3 separate regions of the Homo sapiens genome follow, and regions 1 and 2 are each linked to region 3. Evidence: promoter capture Hi-C in human tissues and cell types (Jung and others, 2019). All regions are on one chromosome and are shown on one strand. The core of a region is centred on a gene start or on the middle of the fragment in contact, and the rest is flanking DNA. Distances in the headings are between cores, read along the strand shown. Region 1 holds the start of FTCD (formimidoyltransferase cyclodeaminase). Region 2 overlaps PCBP3 (poly(rC) binding protein 3). Region 3 holds the start of COL6A1 (collagen type VI alpha 1 chain).

The links. Contacts are between HindIII fragments. The study calls those that stand out against the background at their distance.
Region 1: the fragment with the promoter of FTCD here is called in contact with the fragment with the promoter of COL6A1 in region 3 in 3 of the 25 tissues and cell types used here (IMR-90 fibroblasts, mesenchymal stem cells and mesendoderm cells).
Region 2: a contact is called between a fragment that was not itself captured here and the fragment with the promoter of COL6A1 in region 3, in 4 of the 25 tissues and cell types used here (H1 embryonic stem cells, IMR-90 fibroblasts, dorsolateral prefrontal cortex and 1 more).

Annotation. Positions count from the first base shown.
Region 1 is chr21:46,153,729-46,156,982 of GRCh38, reverse strand. FTCD (formimidoyltransferase cyclodeaminase) reads left to right here and starts at 1,404. Exons shown (of 14, transcript NM_206965.2): 1 at 1,404-1,513; 2 at 2,651-2,834. The coding sequence starts at 1,460. RefSeq lists enhancers at 1,631-2,334, 2,335-3,038, 3,039-3,254. The HindIII fragment of the contact is 26,017 bases long and covers 1-3,254 here.
Region 2 is chr21:45,842,768-45,846,159 of GRCh38, reverse strand. The region is part of intron 4 of PCBP3 (poly(rC) binding protein 3); the gene reads right to left. Among named protein-coding and RNA genes, the nearest start is that of PCBP3-AS1, 8.0 kb to the right of the region's middle. The HindIII fragment of the contact is 8,875 bases long and covers 1-3,392 here.
Region 3 is chr21:45,980,373-45,983,697 of GRCh38, reverse strand. COL6A1 (collagen type VI alpha 1 chain) reads right to left here and starts at 1,928. Exons shown (of 35, transcript NM_001848.3): 1 at 1,751-1,928; 2 at 935-1,064. The coding sequence starts at 1,847. LOC105372841 (a long non-coding RNA gene) reads right to left here. Exons shown (of 3, transcript XR_937803.3): 3 at 2,132-2,408. RefSeq lists enhancers at 447-1,307, 1,308-2,170. The HindIII fragment of the contact is 42,283 bases long and covers 1-3,325 here.

The sequences.
Region 1 (3,254 bases), core at 155-2,654, 170 kb before region 3:
GGACTCAACAGTTCCACAATCATGGTGGAAGGTGAAAGAGGAGCAAAGTCACGTCTTACAAGAGGGTGTGTGCAGGGGAACTGCCCTTTATAAAACCATCGGATCTCGTGAGACCATTCACTATCACAAAAACAGCACCGGAAAAAGCCGCCCCCGTGATTCAGTGACCTCCCACCGGGTCCCTCCCATGACGTGGGAACTATGGGCTCTACAATTCAAGATGAGATTTAGGTGGGGACACAGCCAAACCATATCACCATGTCTACCAAAAATGGAAAAGTTAGCCAGTGTAGTGGTGTGTGCCTGTGGCCCAGATGCTCAGGAGGCTAAGGTGAAAGGACCTCTTGAGCCTGGGGACCAAGGCTGCAGGAAGCCATGATTGTGCCGCTGCACTCCAGCCTGGCTGACAGAGTGAGACTTTGTCTCAAAAAAAAAAAAAAGAGAAAATGATAAAAGCACTGCAAGTGGGCAGCGGCTGAACGTGGAGACAGGAGTTCTCCCTTCTGAGCACGGCCCTGGTGCCGCTGACTTCGTGGGGAGCCTGTAGTCAGGGGAGCAGCAGCTGGGGAGAGCTGGGGTCTCAGCTGCCTTCCCCCATATCGCACATGCCCGTCTCGTGTGTATCTGCACTCTCACACGCGTGTTCCCCTGCCCTGCGCTCACATGTATCTGCACTCACTCTCACATGCTTGCTTCCCCTGCCCCATGCTCACGTGTACCTGCACTCTCACACGTGTGCTCCCCTACCCCACACTCACATGTATCCTCGCTCACTCTCACACGTGTTCCCCTGTCCTGTGCTCACATGTATCCACGCTCTCACACATGTGCTCCCCTGCCTTGTGCTCACGTGTATCTGCACTCTCACGTGTTCCCCTGCCCTGCCCTCACGTGTATCCTCACTCACTCTCACACGCGTGCTCCCCTGCACTCTCCTGTCTGAGCTGAGCTGACCTCAGTTGGGTGCTGCGAGCCAGGGCCTCATGCTGGCCTCTCGCCCTCCACAGCCCCAGGGGTCCAGGCTCCTCCAGGAACAAACGCAGGCCCCACGGGCTGCCTGGAAGGCCTCCCAGAAGGCAGCACAGGGTCACGAGGGTCACCCGCAGTGGCACAGGGAGGCCTCGTCACGACAGGATTCCAGCCAGGCTGGCCTGATGCTCCTGGGGGTCCTCGGCACATGCCCCTTCACCCTGGCATGTGCTTCTTTTCCGGGAACCCACACTCTGGCTGAGTGGAGCCATCCCCTCTGGGTCAACAGCACCCGGGGTGGCTCTGCAGCACCCCACTCCGCGGCTGCACAGGGACCTTGGCCCCACTGCTCCTTGTGCCTTGCTGGTTAATGAGAAGCCGGTGGGGAGGTGCTGCCGGTGAGCGTATAAAGGCCCTGGCGGCGGCTGCGGAGCACTGGCCCTGTCCTTCCATCTGCCCAGAGAGGAGCATCTGGATCAAGGTGCTGGCCATGTCCCAGCTGGTGGAATGCGTCCCCAACTTTTCGGAGGGGAAGAACCAGGAGGTGAGGCCCGAGGAGCTGGTCAAGCATCTAGGGCTGATGGGGCAGCTTGAGTGGCTAAGGCCCAGGCCATGGAGGAGGTGGTGGGCTTGGTGTCCCGGGTCGTCTTCCCAGGATGGGCAGAGCCGCTGCCCGTGGGCCCCAAGGACATCCCGTGGCTCAGGGCCCTGGGGAGTGCCTGACCCAGGGGTGGGTGGAACACGACTGGTGCTTGTGGGGGCTGAGGCTTGGCTGTGGCTTCAGGGGCCTTTCGGGTGCTTTCGGTGGGGGGTTGGGCAGATCTCTGGGCCTCAAAGGGCCTTGGTGCTCCCCCCTGAAAATGGGGCTCCTGCCACTGACTGAAAGGGCTGTGTGAGGCCACACGAGGTGGCCCAGCATGGTCCCCACTGCCGCCTCTCCATCTCCACTGGAGTTAGCTTGCTGAGCCCCCACCCTGCAGCCACCATCCTCACTGGACCCAAAACGAAGTAGGCACAGAGGGGGCAGCAGGCCCCCAGGTCCGGCCTCTCGCCTTCCACAGCCCTGAGGTCCAGGCTCCTCCGGGAACAAACGCAGGCCCTAAGGGCCACCTGGAAGGCCTCCCAGAGCGCAGCACCAGGCCACAGGGGTCACCCGCAGGGGTGCAGGGAGGCCTCGTCATGCCGGGATTCCAGCCAGCACCAAGGCCCTGGGACAGGGCAAGATTTGGGGCTGAGCCCCTGCTCCCAGCAGTCCTGCCACCCGGAAGGTTCTAGGCCCTTCAGGCCCCTCCCCCATGCTGGTGATCTGTCCCTCCCCTGCTCGGGGGTGGGGGTCCCGGCCCCTCTGTGACCTGCGCCTGTGGTCACCTTCTTGGATCCCCGGCCACGTCTCTGGCATCTGTCTGTCGGAGCAGAGCCCGTGAGTCTCTCCTGGAGGCACCACCTGCAGCCCCTTGTGGGGACTGTGCTTGGGCTGGAGTGACTGTGGCTGCTGTGAGGGTTCCCGGGCGGCCGCTGTGTGCGGGCACTTTCGGTGGGAGCTCAGCTTGTCGGAGAGCCCCCAAAGGCTTGGCCCGCCTCCTCAGCCCCCATTTGTGTCTCGGGGTGCAGCCACCTCCAAGCTCCTTTTCCTTCTTTCAAACGGGGAGACTGAGGTGTGGGGGCCGGGCCTGTGTCCCAGGTGATCGACGCCATCTCTGGAGCCATCACACAGACCCCGGGCTGCGTGCTGCTGGATGTGGACGCAGGCCCTTCCACCAACCGCACCGTGTACACCTTCGTGGGGCCGCCGGAGTGCGTGGTGGAGGGGGCCCTCAACGCTGCCCGGGTAGCTTCCCGACTTATCGACATGAGCAGGCACCAAGGTGAGGTCTCTGGGCTCTCCTGTGGCTGCCGTGTCTCAGAATGTCAGGGCCGAGCCCTGTCCTGGTGTCCTGGGAGAGGGGGTAGGCCCGGGGCCCAGGCTTGGAACGTGGGGTCCAGTGGGGCTGGCTCTGGCTCTCCTAGGAGGACCCTGGAGTGTGGGGGTCATGGCCCCCATCCTGCCTGCAGGGCTGTGCTCTGGGGGACCCCCAGGTCGCCACGCTCCCACAGCACCGGGCCACCTTCACGGCTGGGTGGGGGGAGGGGGCCACGCCGGGGAAGGTTTGTGGGCCCCGTCCACCTGCCCACTCGTCAAGGGGGCTGAGAGCCAGTCTTGGAGCAGGCACTGGTGGGGGAAGGGCTGCCTGGAAGCTGACCTGTCAACAGCCCACAAGCCAAACACCTCGGTGGGCAGGCAGGGC
Region 2 (3,392 bases), core at 734-3,233, 140 kb after region 3:
GAGAGAGTGACATGACAGAACGACACATTCCTGCAGTGACCCGCCTCTTCCAACCTCACGCACACGCCCAGGGGAGCCTGAGAGCAGGCCCCTGATGGAGCTGGATACAAACGAGATGGAATCTCCACGTGGAAATGCTCTGCAGCTCCCTTTTCAGTGGGAAACACAGCTGTTTAGGAAGGCAAGGAGACAGAGGAGATGAAGGAGGCATGGGATCCCCTTCCTCACCTCTGGCCTGCTCTGGCTGTGAGACCCCGGGAGTAACAGCAGAGCAATGGCTTTAACATCTTGCTGAACATGCTGAACTGGCTGCCACAACAGATCAGCTTCAAAGGCAAGGACCCCAAGGGTGTCACATTCCCTCCTGGGCACAGTCCAGACAAAAGCAGTGCACTCAGCTGCAAACTACACACATGCATACACATGGCAAAGGCACACACTCACATACATGTGCAAACGGGTGCTTAAGCAGCTCACACACATGCATGCACATGGCAAAGGCACACACTCACACATGTGCACACGGGTGCTTAAGCAGTTCACACACATGCATACACACGGCAAAGGCACACACTCACACGTGTGCACACGGGTGCTTAAGCAGCTCACACACATGCATACACACAGCAAAGGCACACACTCACAAACGTGTACACGCGGGTGCTTAAGCAGCTCACACACACACATACACAGGTGAAGGCACACACTCACACGTGTGGACACAGGTGCTTAAGCAGCTCACATGCATACACATGGCAAAGGCACACACTTACACACATGTGCACACGGGTGCTTAAGCAGCTCACAGCATTAGCCAGGCTCTTAAGAAATGGTTTCAGCTTCACCAGAAGGTTTCAAACCTCAGACAATCACAAGGCAGCATGCTGTCTCTCTGTAACATTCTCCTCATGCCTCTCAGCATCAGGGAAACCGCTTCAGACAGGAAACCATGACTTGGTAAGAGATCATCTGGTGGCAGGTGCCCCTTGCTAACCAAGGCTGGTTAAGATGAACAAAAGGCATAAGAGAGCAGAACTGTCAGTGACCCCTCCGGAGGTGGACTCCTTGAGAATCCAGGTATGGTCCTTTTAGGGAGAACAGTTTAGAAGATATTCAAGCTGATACCTTAAATCTCTGGGGTACCCAGTAAAAAAGTCTAAGAATTCATAAAAGGAAGCTTCTGATGAATGCAAAATTTTGTTCAACCTTAAATAAAGCATATATATATGTAAACTATATATATAAATAAAGCATATATATAAACTTTATATACGTATATAAACTTCATATACGTATATAAAGTTATAACTTTATATACGTATATGAAGTTTATATATAACTTTATATATATGTATATAAACTCAGACCCAGTCTTCTTCTTATGAATCTGCCTGGAGAGGAAGAAAGAAGAACCATGGTTTCATATGTACCAGAGTTTGGACCCTAACGTTGCCACTTTTGTGGGCTAACACCCAGAACTATCTCCATTCTGTCACATCTAAGATGAGGAAGCCACGCTGCCCTTGTGGTGCGCGTGGAACCATGCCGCGGGGAGCACCATTGGCAGGGAGCACCAACACACAGTGCTCACAGAGGAGCGGGGAGACCAGCCTGCCTACCATCTCCATTACTTCTGCCACACAAAATCCTCCAGCCACGCTGAATTCTACCCTGGCAGGTGTCCTGCGGCTGCAACAATGCTGGAGGGAGGGTGGAGAATGTGACCCCAGGGCTCCCTCACCTTGCGCTGGGTGACATCTGGACCATGTGAAGGGCTCTGGAGGGCAGGGCAGCACCACCCACCCCTGCCACCCAATCATAAGAGTCCTTAGGTGCTGGGGCACCTCCCACCCAACGTGTCTATGCTCCATGCAGCAGTGTGCAAGACCTCCCTAAAGTGGGGCTCTCACCAAGACGGCAAAGCATTTCCTAATGCAGTGGGTCAATCGTCCGGCTCAAAGGGCAGCCTTGGAGCTGGACAGACCAGCCCAATGAAAAACAAGCACGGCCTTGTCCGCAACCAGACTGCTGGAGCTGGGGCCTGCAATTTTGGGTAGAAACACTGAGAAGAAAGACTGAAAGAAGGTCAAGGAGAGAGACGAGCATTAATGGAGGAAGAATGCTACAAGAAGGAGCAGTGAGGTCAGAGGTCACAGGCCCCAAATCGCCCAACTGGTGGGAGATGCCAACATACCTCTCTCCTTTACAGTTCACACAAGTATACCCCACAAAAGTAATAAAGATGCAGAATATATTAACAGCACAAACAACATGATAGTGCGTATGTGTGTCTGTGTGTATATAAAACCCTGTACCTGACAAGCAGAGGTAACACATTCTCCTAAGGCTCTCAGAGAACAAAACAAAAATTGATAACGTTTTAGTTCATATTGCAGGTTTCAACAAATGTTGAAAACATGGAGTCCACAGAACATATCTCCTACTCAGTAGGCAATTAAATATCATTAGCAAAAGATAACTTTACAATTCCCTTGGACAAAACACTTTTTAAATGTTTCCAGATAAGAAATAGATGAGATCAGAAAACAGACCTCAACAATAATAAAATTATTGCATGCCAAAATTTGTAGCAAACAGCTGCAACAGAACTCACAGTAAAGTTTATAGCTTTTAAAAGGAGTAAAGAAACACAAAATTAGTGAGTCACGAATCCCATTTAAAAAGTTAGAAAAAGAACAGAAAGTATCCACAGAAAGTGGAAAGGTAATAATAAAGAAAAGTTCAGAAGTTAAGCAAAGAAACAAAGGCAACTGAGAAGATCAGTAAATATAAAATTTGGTTCTTAAAGTCTAAATAATATACAACCCTCTGATGAGATTAATCAAGAAAAACAACTGCGAAGGCACAGGGGATAGTAGTCACGTAAAGGAAGCCATGCCTTCTGGTTCTGGACAGGATGGAATAGACACCTCTCTCCCTATTCTTCCTGCTGAGCACAGCCAACAACTCTGGACATTACATGTGGAACAAACAGAAGAGAACCCTGAAAGCTGGAGGGAAGAAGGGGGACTGGCTGGGCCCTTGGGATTTGGAGAATGACACAGCGGTGAGTTCGCTATTCTTTGGGTTTCTTATTTGTTTGTTCGTTTTGTTTGTGCTTCCTCCTCTATATTTCAGACAGGGCACTGGAAAAGCAACTGAAAAATGCCAAAGGATACACACTGGAAAAAAACAGTCTCAAGAAAATTCTCTCTAGGGAAAGGGATGGGAAAGGAGGAACCTATTAGGTCAGAAAGCATCTGAGAATACCTGCCCTGCTCCATGCACAGGACAGGACGCACACAGCACCCTGCCCGGTCAGAGGGGCTGAGCTGAGAGCCTCGGCTTCCACTCCCACCCAGCAGTACCAAGCACCCTTCTCCCCACCGGTG
Region 3 (3,325 bases), core at 679-3,178:
CGCCCCTCCCCGGTGCCATCCACAGCCAGACCCCCCCCCAAACACTGCCGCACGGGCCTGGCCATGTCCACTAAGCTCAGGGTTCCTGGTACCAATGGCTCCTGCTGGGCACGGTGTGGGCTGGAAGGTCCACCCTGCTGTTACCGGCAGCCTCTGACTGTGCCCCTTCTGGTGGCGGGAGGCTCCGGCCCAGCGGCCAGTCAGCAGGGTCAAGGAGGACGGGGGTTCCTACGCCGGCTAAGCTGTGTCCCCACTGCCAGGACCCGTCTCAGTGGGGGAGCCCCGTTCTACATGCCCCCCCCTCAGCGGCCCTGTGCACCCACAGGACCGACTCCCCTCTCCCCCCGGTCTGTCCTCAGCCACACGCACAGATGGAGGAACGTGGAGCAGAGGGTGCCGTGTCCCAAGCCCAGAACCAAGCCTGGGGGCCCTGGGGCTGCAGAGCGACACCCCTCCTGGCTCCCGAGTCGGGGACCTTCAGAACGTGGGATCCAGGACCCAGGTAGAGGCTCTCACTGCCCACGGAACAAACCAGGGTCCAGGTGGTTAGTGAGGGGCTCCCGCGCACCAGGCAGGACTGCGTGTCTGGGCCAGTGCGCTGAGCCCTCTCGGTCAGCCTGCGGGAGCCTCTCTTCCCTACATCTCAGCCTCACTGTCACCTCGGCCCTGCTGAACAGGTGCCACCCCCGCGAGCAGGGTCTCAAACCAGCTCACTCTGGAAGGCGCTGGGAGAGGCTCAGACCAGCTCACTCTGGAGGGCGCCGGAAAGGGCCCCGGCCTCACTCTGGAGGGCGCCGGGAGGGGCCCCGGTCAGGGCAACGCTCGCCCAACCTTAGGAGGTTGAGGCCGTCGCACCCGTGTTCCCCTGGGCCCCCACCCCTCCCTCCAAGAGGCCCAGAAGCACAGGAGGAAGGTCACGGGGCGTCCCTCCTACCTGTCCCTCAGGTTGTCGATGAAGCGCTTGGTGAAGGACTTGACTTTGTCCACGAGGGCCCCGTAGGGCTTCAGCCTCAGGGCCACGCTCTCAGAGGTGTCCAGCACAAAGAACAGGTCCACGGGGCAGTCTGGCCGAAGATGGAGGAGAGGGGCCTTCAAGCTCTCGCCCCATTCCCCGAGTCTCTGCTGGGCCTGCCCTCCCGGCCAGCCCAGCGCCTGCAGCACAGAGCCCCGGGCCCGGAGAGGCTCTCCCGGGAAAAGGCAGCAGGACGTCCCTCGGTGGGGACGGTGGGGAGGGGGTGGAGTGAGAGACCCCAAACCGCTCCTGTGCCTCGAGGGGAGTCAGAAACCTTCACAACCTCCCCCGAAGGGCAGGGCGTCCCCGGCACGGGACCGGACAAGTGAGACCTCACGGGAAGGTTTCTCGCTGGATTCAGAACCAGCAGCGCACGACTTCTTCTAGAACGGGGGTCGGGGGGGCCGTGCGTCTGGACTCACTGCCAGGTGAGGGGTCAAACGGATTCACGGGGCGCCGAGACAGCCCCGCACCAGCTCCCCCTCGCCAGGGAGCCCCTCCCGAGCTGCCTGCGGTCCGGCCCCGCTGAGAATGCTGAATGCTGAGCCTCTAGGGGCCCCGGCCAAGGCCCGGTGGGGCAGAGCTGGGCGCTGCAGCCGCCCCGAGCGGGGAGTGGGGTTCAGGGGCTCCAGGCCCCCAGTCTGCAGTTCCACGCGTGGGAGGGGACCCCGCGCATCTGGCCCTGGCCGGCAGCAAAGAGCGGGGGGTCTGGAGCCTGCACCCCAAGCCACCACTCACCCTGGAAGGCCACGGCCCTCGGGGTCTCCGGCTCATCCTGCGCGGCTGTCCAGCAGGCCTGCAGCAGCAGGGGCAGCAGAGCACGGGCCGCCCTCATGTCTGGGGCCTGCGGTCACCACACAGCGCGGCCAGGGCAGAGTGGGCCGCCGCCGCCGCCCAGAGACCGAGGCTGCCTTCTGCTCCCAGCCAGAGTGAGAGCGGAGGGCAAGGAGGGGAGGGGCGGGGCGAGAGGGGCGGGAGGGGAGGGGAGGGGCGGGAGGGGAGGGGAGGGGCGGGGCGGGAGGAGAGGGGAGGGGAGGGGAGGGGCGGGAGGAGAGGGGAGGGGCGGGAGGGGAGGGGCGGGGCGGGAGGGGAGGGGCGGGGCGGGGCGGGGAGGAGCGGCCCATGAGTCACCACCTCCTTGCTGGGGTCTCTCCCTCCAGAACCGGCAGCAGCTCCGAGCCCAGGGAGAAGGCGGTTTCCCTGGCTGGCTCGCCGCGGCCTGCAGTTCAGTTCCCGTGTCAGGGAGGAGGAAACTGCAGCAGCTGAATCAAACGTCTGAAAACCAGCGTGTCACCCAGGGAGAGTTCCTTGAAACATCTTTCGGTAGTTTCCAATCCAGACGTCTCCATGCGGGACGCACGGGCAGGCTCACTCGCCTCTTCCCACCAACCGCCTCCTGCAGAGGACCTCGCCGTGAGCTGAATTGTTGCTTTATCAGATCTCCGCGTTCTTTTTTCACGTCAATATTTCTTCACAGTATAGTCGGATACGTATTTGCCAAAGATATTTCAGTTTGTACCGTGGGAAGACAAAGTTGCTCACAATATAGTTGTTATATATGCTGTGTGTGGAGACAGAGAGACAGAGACAGAGAGACAGAGAGAGACAGTGAGAGAGAGACAGAGAGACAGAGACAGAGAGACAGACAGAGACACAGACAGAGGAGAGACAGAGACAGAGAGAGAGACAGAGACAGAGAGAGACAGAGAGACAGAAAGACAGAGAGAGACACAGAGAGACAGAGGAGAGACAGAGACAGAGAGACAGAGACAGAGAGACACAGAGAGACAGAGAGACAGAGAGACAGAGACAGAGAGAGAGACAGTGAGAGACAGAGACAGAGAGACACAGAGACAGAGAGACAGAGAGAGACAGAGACAGTGAGAGAGAGACAGAAAGACAGAGACAGAGAGACAGACACAGAGAGACAGAGGAGAGACAGAGACAGACAGAGAGAGACAGAGACAGAGAGAGACAGAGAGACAGACAGAGAGAGACAGAGAGAGAGACAGAGACAGAGACACAGAGAGAGGAGAGACAGAGAGAGACAAAGACAGAGACAGAGAGACAGAGACAGAGAGAGACAGAGAGGAGAGACAGACAGAGACGGAGAGACAGAGACAGAGAGACAGAGACAGAGAGACAGAAAGAGAGACAGAGAGAGGAGAGAGGGGCTGTCCCTGATATCACCTGGGGGTGGGCTCCAGATGTGGCCAGATGCATCCCTGGCCCACAGAAGGTCCCAGAAGAGCTTTCCCAAAGCTGGAGCTGCTGAGACTTGCCTAACACCAGCCTAAATGTCTTATAATTTTA